2 separate regions of the Homo sapiens genome follow, and region 1 is linked to region 2. Evidence: promoter capture Hi-C in human tissues and cell types (Jung and others, 2019). All regions are on one chromosome and are shown on one strand. The core of a region is centred on a gene start or on the middle of the fragment in contact, and the rest is flanking DNA. Distances in the headings are between cores, read along the strand shown. Region 1 holds the start of GABRR2 (gamma-aminobutyric acid type A receptor subunit rho2). Region 2 holds the start of SRSF12 (serine and arginine rich splicing factor 12).

Region 1 (3,800 bases), core at 382-2,881, 200 kb after region 2:
GCACTTTGGGAGGCCAAGGTGGGTGGATCACTTGAGGTCAGAAGTTTGAGACCAGCCTGGCCAACATGGTGAAACCCTGTCTCTACTAAAAATACAAAAATTAGCCAGGCATGCTGGTGCACGCCTGTAATCCCAGCTACTCGGGAGGCTGAGGCAGGAGAATCGCTTGAACCCGGGAGGTGGAGGTTGCAGTGAGCCAAGATTGCGCCACTGCACTCCAGCCTGGGTGACAGAGAGTCCATCTCAAAAAACAAACAAACAAATAAACAAAAGAGAGTAATAACCTCTCCCAGAGCAGCAGTTGCCACTGGGATACTGGAAGTAGAGGCTGTAACTCTTATTTATATTCAGGGTTTTTTTTTTTTTTTTCTAAAAATAAGAAATCAATTAAACTTTAACATACATATTTATAACAGCACATGTATGTGATTTGTAAGTAAATATGCATGTATTAGAGGTACAGTTTCAAAAACTTGTCATTGACAGCAGCGCATGTTCAAAAATGTTTGGGGACTGACCTAGAAAATGTGCCTCAAGATATTAATTTATATTCAAAACCACTAGTTTATCTGATGCTTAGTAGAATGGAAAATAAATGTGTAACATGCCACACATGGTGTTTATATCTTAGCTGCTTGTTCTTTTCTTATCTCCATGTCTAACAGTCCTTATGTCTACTTCAGGCCTGGAGTATGATGCTTCGTATGTCAATTCAAAATAAACTTCCTAAGGAACTTAGATTTGTAATGTAATGATTTTGAATGCAGATCCTGGGCTATTATTTCTTGGGAATGTCTCCATTACATCATGAAATTGCATTCACTGTTGTTCACACATATATTTCTGATAATTAAGCAAATTTCTGAACACCTCTTCTAAGATTCAAAACAGTAAAATGAAACCCAATATCATTATAAAGTTATTCTCTGGCAAATAATTTAAGGAAGACAACTCCCGTATGCATTTTTTTCTTAATAGTTCAGGCTAGGTTCCTATATACAGTTCTCCCCAAAATACTTGAGTGTAATTATTTAGCAGGTCATCGGTTGTAACCCTGAGAAACAAAGCAGCACAATGTGATTTGTACAGAGAATGATTTTACCCACTACGTCTCCAACTATTTATATCTGCCTCAAATCAAAATGCTTTGGCTGAACGCAGGCATCCGAAGGAAGGCTCATCCCAGTCTAGTTCTGCTCTCAATGCTTGTGACACATAGAGTATGTGTGCCCAGGGAGAGGCTGCGTTCAGTGAAGTAGCTGGGTTCTCATTCTCATAGGGCGATATCTCAATAGGACCTTAGCCCCCTGGGGAGCCATCCCACTGTGCCACTGCTGCTGCTACTATGCAGGGTAACCTCCCTCCTTTCCCACCTATGACTTTACCTTGGCTTGGGCATTTCCACCTGCCCTGTCCATCGCTTCCTCTTGGGTTTTCTGCTCTCCACGAGAACCATCAAGCAAAACAAGAACAAAATGAGTCTTGTAAAATAAGGCATTTTGTGGACATCTGTGAGGCAAAAAGCTGCTTTCCAGTAGCCTGTGGCAGAGCAAATCCCCCCTGGCTTGACCATTGATCCATCTGCTGCCTCCTGACGGGCTGCTCTGAGGGGCTGTGAGGGCAAGGCTGGCCAGGCTAGTTGTCCCGATTTACTATTTGATACTGACGCCCCACTCACCCCCTCCACTCCGGGCCATGACACAAACACCAGGCTTTGCCCTCCCTGCTGATTAGTGATTGGCCATTAGTCGAGAAGTTTGTCCTCATGAAATTCTGCTTCCACTGAATCCTAGAATAGCTTTGGCTAAAGCTGTTATATAAAAAATTAAATCTCTTGAACATGCCAGCTTTGTGCTGAGATTATTGGTCCATCTTCTGGCTGCATAAAACCAGTCTGTCCCATCCACCAGGGGGTCAGCTCGGATTCCAAGTAGATTTGCAGAGAGGACTTGGTGGACATTTAGATGGGTACATAAATGTGTTCAGGAAATGCTGAGTAAACATGAATGACCTGTTTCCTTAGGGTTGATTTATTTATGGAGCTAAGAGAATATGCTTTGCCTATGAGCAAGGATACTTCCTTTCTCACAAATATAGATCAACTTTTTCCAGTGAAAACATCAAAGCATAAAATACATTTTTAGTTTCAAGGATGACATTAATCATAGAATTCATGATTATGTAAGCTTTTCTTCCTACCATAAGCATTAAATTAACTTTGGCCTTTAACCCTAAAATGTATAAAATCAATCATAAATTAGGCTTTATTCCTATCCTGGGATATGGAATTAAGCACATTAGAATTGTAGAGATACATGTGGTTATGTCTAACCTACTGAACAAAATAGAATATGTTTAAAAACTACTCATTGCTTGCTATGTCCTGGCAATGGAAAATTTCATGGTAGAAACATAGGGAGATGAGGACAGAGATCAGGAGGTGGGATAGCCGTAAGTGAAACAGAATTGGGATTTTACTATGTATAAATGACAGAATCAAAAGAAGCTCTTTGATTCCCTTAAGCAAAGTGAGATGGCATGATCTACTTTATTTTTGAAATAATTCCTAATTGGGATCAGTCGAATCAGGGAACTTATGATGACAAAAGAGAATAAGGTCCTGCTCTGAGGGAAGCGAAGAAGGAAGAAGAGAAAGGAAGACAGAAGAGTGAGATACTCAAGTTAGTTCTGCGGTAGCATACATTTGGTGCCTGTGCAGATAGAGTAGAAGGTGAGAGACAGAAAAGTCAACAATAATATCAAGAATTCTACGGTGGCTCACACTTGTAATCCCAGCACTTTGGCAGAGGCAGGTGGATTACCTGAGGTCAGAAGTTCAAGACCAGCCTGGCCAACGTGGTGAAACCCCATTTCTACTAAAAATACAAAAATTAGCCAGGTGTGGTGGTACGTGCCTGTTAATCCCAGCTATTCAGGAGGCTGAGGCAGGAGAATCACTTGAACCTGGGAGGCAGAGGCTGCAGTGAGCCAAGATCACACCACTGCACTCCAGCCTGGGCGACAGAGCATGACTCCGTCTCCAAAAAAAAAAAAAAAAAAAAAAAAGCTAGAGCATGAGCCTGGAGTTCAGGAGAAAGTCTAGTTCTATTTCTAGACTATAGAAATAGATCTGGAGCTGTAGAGACCAAGTGAAAGTTTTCCCTTTGCCCCATGGAGGATCACCAAAAAATCAACTGACAAAAGGAAGATTAATAGGGGAAAAGGCATACAGATTTATTAACATGCATGGAGGAAAATCACATCATGATTACCCAATTACCCAGCATGGTACAGACATTTATATACCCTTTTTCATAAGGAAGAGATGGGGGATGTAGGCAATTCTTTTGAGGGACAGTAAATCATTAGGGAGGATGAATGGACCCAGGAGGAAAGTGAGGGGTGGAACTACACAGGAACTAAAGTTGTCTTATACAGATAAAGTCCAACAGGTAATCTCTTAAAGCTGCCCTCAGAAGACTAGATGAAAAGTCTATCTGGGTGCAGTGAGAACTCCCAGTCTCTTCTCTTCTCAGATGGTTGATTTTTCCTGGTTATTTTGTGAGATCCCTAGGTAGGGGGTCTTAAGTGCATTTAAACTTTCTTAGATAGGGAAATTCCAGAGAGTCCCTCCCAGTTCTTTGTGCAAGAAGAGCAGAGAGCCTGACCAATCAGTAGGTTAACAAAGAAATTCAGACAGAAATTTAAAAACTTTTTGAAATGAAAAAAAGTACAGCATACCAAAGCCTGTGGCATATAACAAAAGCAGTGCTAAGAGAGAAATTTACAGTATTCAATGC
Region 2 (3,757 bases), core at 201-2,700:
AAAAATTAGCCGGGTGTGGTGGCACACGCCTGTAATCCCATCTACTTTGGATGCTGAGGCAGGAGAATCGCTTGAACCCGGGAGGCAGAGGTTGCAGCCAACCAAGATCGGGCCATTGTACTCCAGCCTGGGGGACAAGAGCGAGACTTTGTCTAAAAAAAAAAAAAAAACTAAAAAATAAAAAATACTTAACGTTTATTTACTCCTCAAAGGTAAATTATAATACTCATCTCAGATGACTATGGAGTCAAGAGCTCCATGTATCTATACCTCTCTGGCCCCAGGTAAATCATTAAAACTCTTAGTTTCCGCTCTCCCTTATGTACAATAAAACAGTACTGCATAGGTAGAAAGGCTGGGGGGAAGTAAATGAAGCCCAGTGAAATGAGAATGTCTATTAACACCGTTCCCTCTCCCCCCGCCCCCAATTTCTTCAGCTCCATTAAGGAAGGAAGTGCTATATGAAAAAGTCATTCCTTAGTATCTGTGTTCAGACACTCTGTAGACAAAATTCTCAACGGAGGGGTGGGGCATCAGAATCAACCAGGTGAGCCTATACTCACGCCCTTAAAAAGGGTGTTAATACTGGACTCAGAACTTTAAAGAAAAACGCACTGATCTCATTCATTGAAGTTATTTTTTGTATGCAGAATAAAATTGTGTGAATAAAATGCAAGCAGCACCGTCTGTAAGTAGACCAGAACTGGGGGAAAGAAACTGTAAGGCCCGAGTACGCATTATGGTACAAAACGTTCTCACCAGCCCCAATTCCTCTCCATCTAGGAGGGTTGGATGCGCGCGATTTTATCGGGGCACGGCGACAAAGGAGCTGAAACGCGGGCACTCGCTGGAGCGCAAACCCTCCCGACTCCCGGCGGGGAGCGACCTGAGCTCGGGAGAGGGGCGCCCCGTGTCCCACGGCCCGCCGGCTGCGGTGCTGAACCGCGGAAAGCGACGCGGGCCCGGGACACGATGTGCGCGGCGCCGGGGCTGAAAGCTGGCCGGGAGGGCGGAGGCGCGAGTTCCGCCCTGGGCCGCGGAGTAGTCCGAGGGCTCACACCTCCCCAAGTGGCGCAGCCTGGGCCCGCGGGGAGGCTCCGCGCAGCTCCCCCGAGCCTCCGCCGGGCCTCGGCCGTGCTCCGCGGCGCGGCTGTTACCCCGCCCCTCCTCCGCGCCCCCAACCTGCAGCCGCGGCCGTTCACCTGGTGGCGTCCGCGACGTTCCTGATGAACAGGGAGGTGTTGGGGGGCCTCGTGTAGCGAGACATGACCGCTTCCTCCGTTCCCTCCGGGTCTGCCCGCGGCCGCTGGACTCGCTCCGTCTCCCGCTACCGCTGCTACCACCACAGGAGCTCCGCCGGCCCCCGGCGCGACCCCCACCCCTCGGCCTCAGCCCCGCCAGCGCGCAGCCGCAGAGGCCGGCGCAGAGGGGGCGCAGCGCGGCGCCAGCCTGGACGCACGGGCCGGGGGCGGGGGCGGCGCCGGCGCGGCCCAGGGGCCGCGGGAATTCCGAAGACAGGAGCGCGGCCGTTCCCAGGCCCTATGGGATCCGGGTATGGGGGGTCCTGGAGTGCGACGGGATTTGGGGAGGGGGCGGCGAGGGCCAGTGTATGTCAGGAGGGCGGAGGCCAAGAGGGGGCTTGAGGCCGCGGCGGGGACGCCGGGGGTTAGAGGACCCAGAGGTGGTGGCGGGGCTGCGGCTGGGCGGAGGTGGGGTCAGTGAGAGCCGCTTTCAACCGCGCCCCCGCTCAGCCTCCGCGGCCCTCAGCGCATCGTCCTGAGCGCAGGACCTTGGCAGTTGGTAGGCCTCCTGCCCCTCTGGTCTTGAGCCTTCGGCTTTCCAACTGTGAGGTCTCGGTTTTGTTCGGATTTGTTTTTTTAATAGAGACGGGGTCTCGCTGTGTTGCCCAGGTGGTCTCAAACTCCTGGGCTCAAGCCTCTCCCGCCTCGGCCTTCCAAAGTGCTGGGATTACAGGTGTGAGCCACCGCGCCTGGCCTGTTGGATTTTTAAGTATTATATGATTCTTCATCCTTTATTCACTTGGGGCATAACACTCAGCTGTGAGTACATTCATTCAGATGTTTATTGAGCGTCTACTATGCGCCAGGCACTTAGCGTGGGATATAGCAATGAACAAACAGGCCAAGCCCCGCCCTCTGAGCTTACATTCTAGAGGGGGGACAAACGAATGTACAAATGAATACATGATGTAGAAGACAACAGTTTAAATGCAGGGACAGTTAAGCAAAATTTAAATTACCCTCTCCCTATTCCCCCAAAATGTTGTAGCCCATCCCCTTCTAGTTAGACTCGTCTTCGCCTTGCTCCTGTGGCCGGCAGGCACAGCCTGTTATTCAGGGCTGGGAGTGTAACCAGGCAACTCCTAAGTGTGAAGAGTGCCCCTTTTCGCTCGCAGAAGTGGTAGGCTTTGAAGAATACATGTCGTGGTCACCCTTCTAGCTCACAGCCCTCCCAGAGGCTGTGGAGGTTCCTGGGTCTGCAGCTGTACTGGAACGGTGGCTATTCTTTCATTCAGAAGGGATTGCTCTGGCACTGCAGGCACAGGGCTAGACTGGCACCGTGCCTATTCCCCTAGAGCTTAGAATTTGGTAGGGAGGCAGAATCTAACAATCACACTGGTAAAGATACAAACTATAATACAGGGCTATGAAAAGAACTATATGCTGCTGAGAGCAGGCATTGTGGGATGGTGAGCAAGGCTAGAGGGTCACTTATGTTCCCTGAACAAGTCTTGAAGAGATGGGTAAAGAATGGAGAAGAGTAATTAGTGCAGTGGAACAGCACGTGCAAAGGCTTTGAGGCAATATAGTAAATGAGGCAAAACAGGAGCATGAGGCTGGAGAAGAGTTGGAAAATGAGGCTGGAGAGCAGGCTGGATTCATAATACAAAAGCTTAGAATGCTTACCATGTGTTAGTTGGCTAGGGCTGCCATGACAAAGCACCACAGATTTGGTGGCCCGAAACAACAGAAATTTATTCTCTTGTAGTTCAGAGGCCAGAAGTCTGAAATCCAGGTGTCCGCAGGGCCATCATCTATCTGAAGGCACTCTAGGGGAATCCTCTGTTTCTTCCAGTCTTTGGTGGCCCCACACATGTTTTGGCTGTGGATACATAGATCCAGTCTCCACTTCTGTCTTCACATGGCCTCCTGTCTTTCTCTCTCTCTTTCTCTGTCTCTCTCTCTTTTTATTTTAGATGGAGTCTATGTTGCCTAGGCTGATTTCAAACTCTTAGGCTCAAGTGATCCTCCTGCCTTGGCCTCCCAAAGTTGAGATTACAGGTGTGAGCCACTGTATTAGTCCGTTTTCACACTGCTGATAAAGACATACCCAAGACTGGGGAGGCCTCACAATCATGGTGTAGGGCAAAAGGCACATCTTACATGGTGGCAGACAGAGAATGAGAGCCAAGCGAAAGGGGTTTCCCCTTATAAAACCATCAGATCTCGTGAGACTTATTCACTACCAGGAGAACAGTATGGGGAACTGCCCCCATGATTCAGTTATCTCCCTCTAGGTCCCTCCCACAATACGTGGGAATTATGGGAGCTAACAATTCAAGATGAAATTTGGGTGGGGACAGAGCCAAATGATATCAGCCATCTATCCTATCCAGTTCTATCTCTTATAAGGACATTTGTCGTTGGATTTAGGGCCCACTTGGTTAATTCAGAATGATCTCATCTTGAAATCCTCACTTACATCTGCAAAGATTCTTTTTCCAGATAAGGATACA

What was found. The method cuts DNA at HindIII sites, captures the fragments that hold promoters and counts their contacts. A contact is called where the count stands out against the background at its distance.
Region 1: a contact is called between the fragment with the promoter of GABRR2 here and the fragment with the promoter of SRSF12 in region 2, in 1 of the 25 tissues and cell types used here (adrenal gland).

The regions. Positions count from the first base shown.
Region 1 is chr6:89,313,668-89,317,467 of GRCh38, forward strand. It overlaps GABRR2 (gamma-aminobutyric acid type A receptor subunit rho2), which reads right to left and starts at 1,632. Exons shown (of 9, transcript NM_002043.5): 1 at 1,386-1,632. The coding sequence starts at 1,498. The HindIII fragment of the contact is 18,857 bases long and covers 1-3,800 here.
Region 2 is chr6:89,116,621-89,120,377 of GRCh38, forward strand. It overlaps SRSF12 (serine and arginine rich splicing factor 12), which reads right to left and starts at 1,451. Exons shown (of 5, transcript NM_080743.5): 1 at 1,203-1,451. The coding sequence starts at 1,267. It also overlaps a transcript of PM20D2 not described here. RefSeq lists a silencer at 1,035-1,304. The HindIII fragment of the contact is 14,948 bases long and covers 1-3,680 here.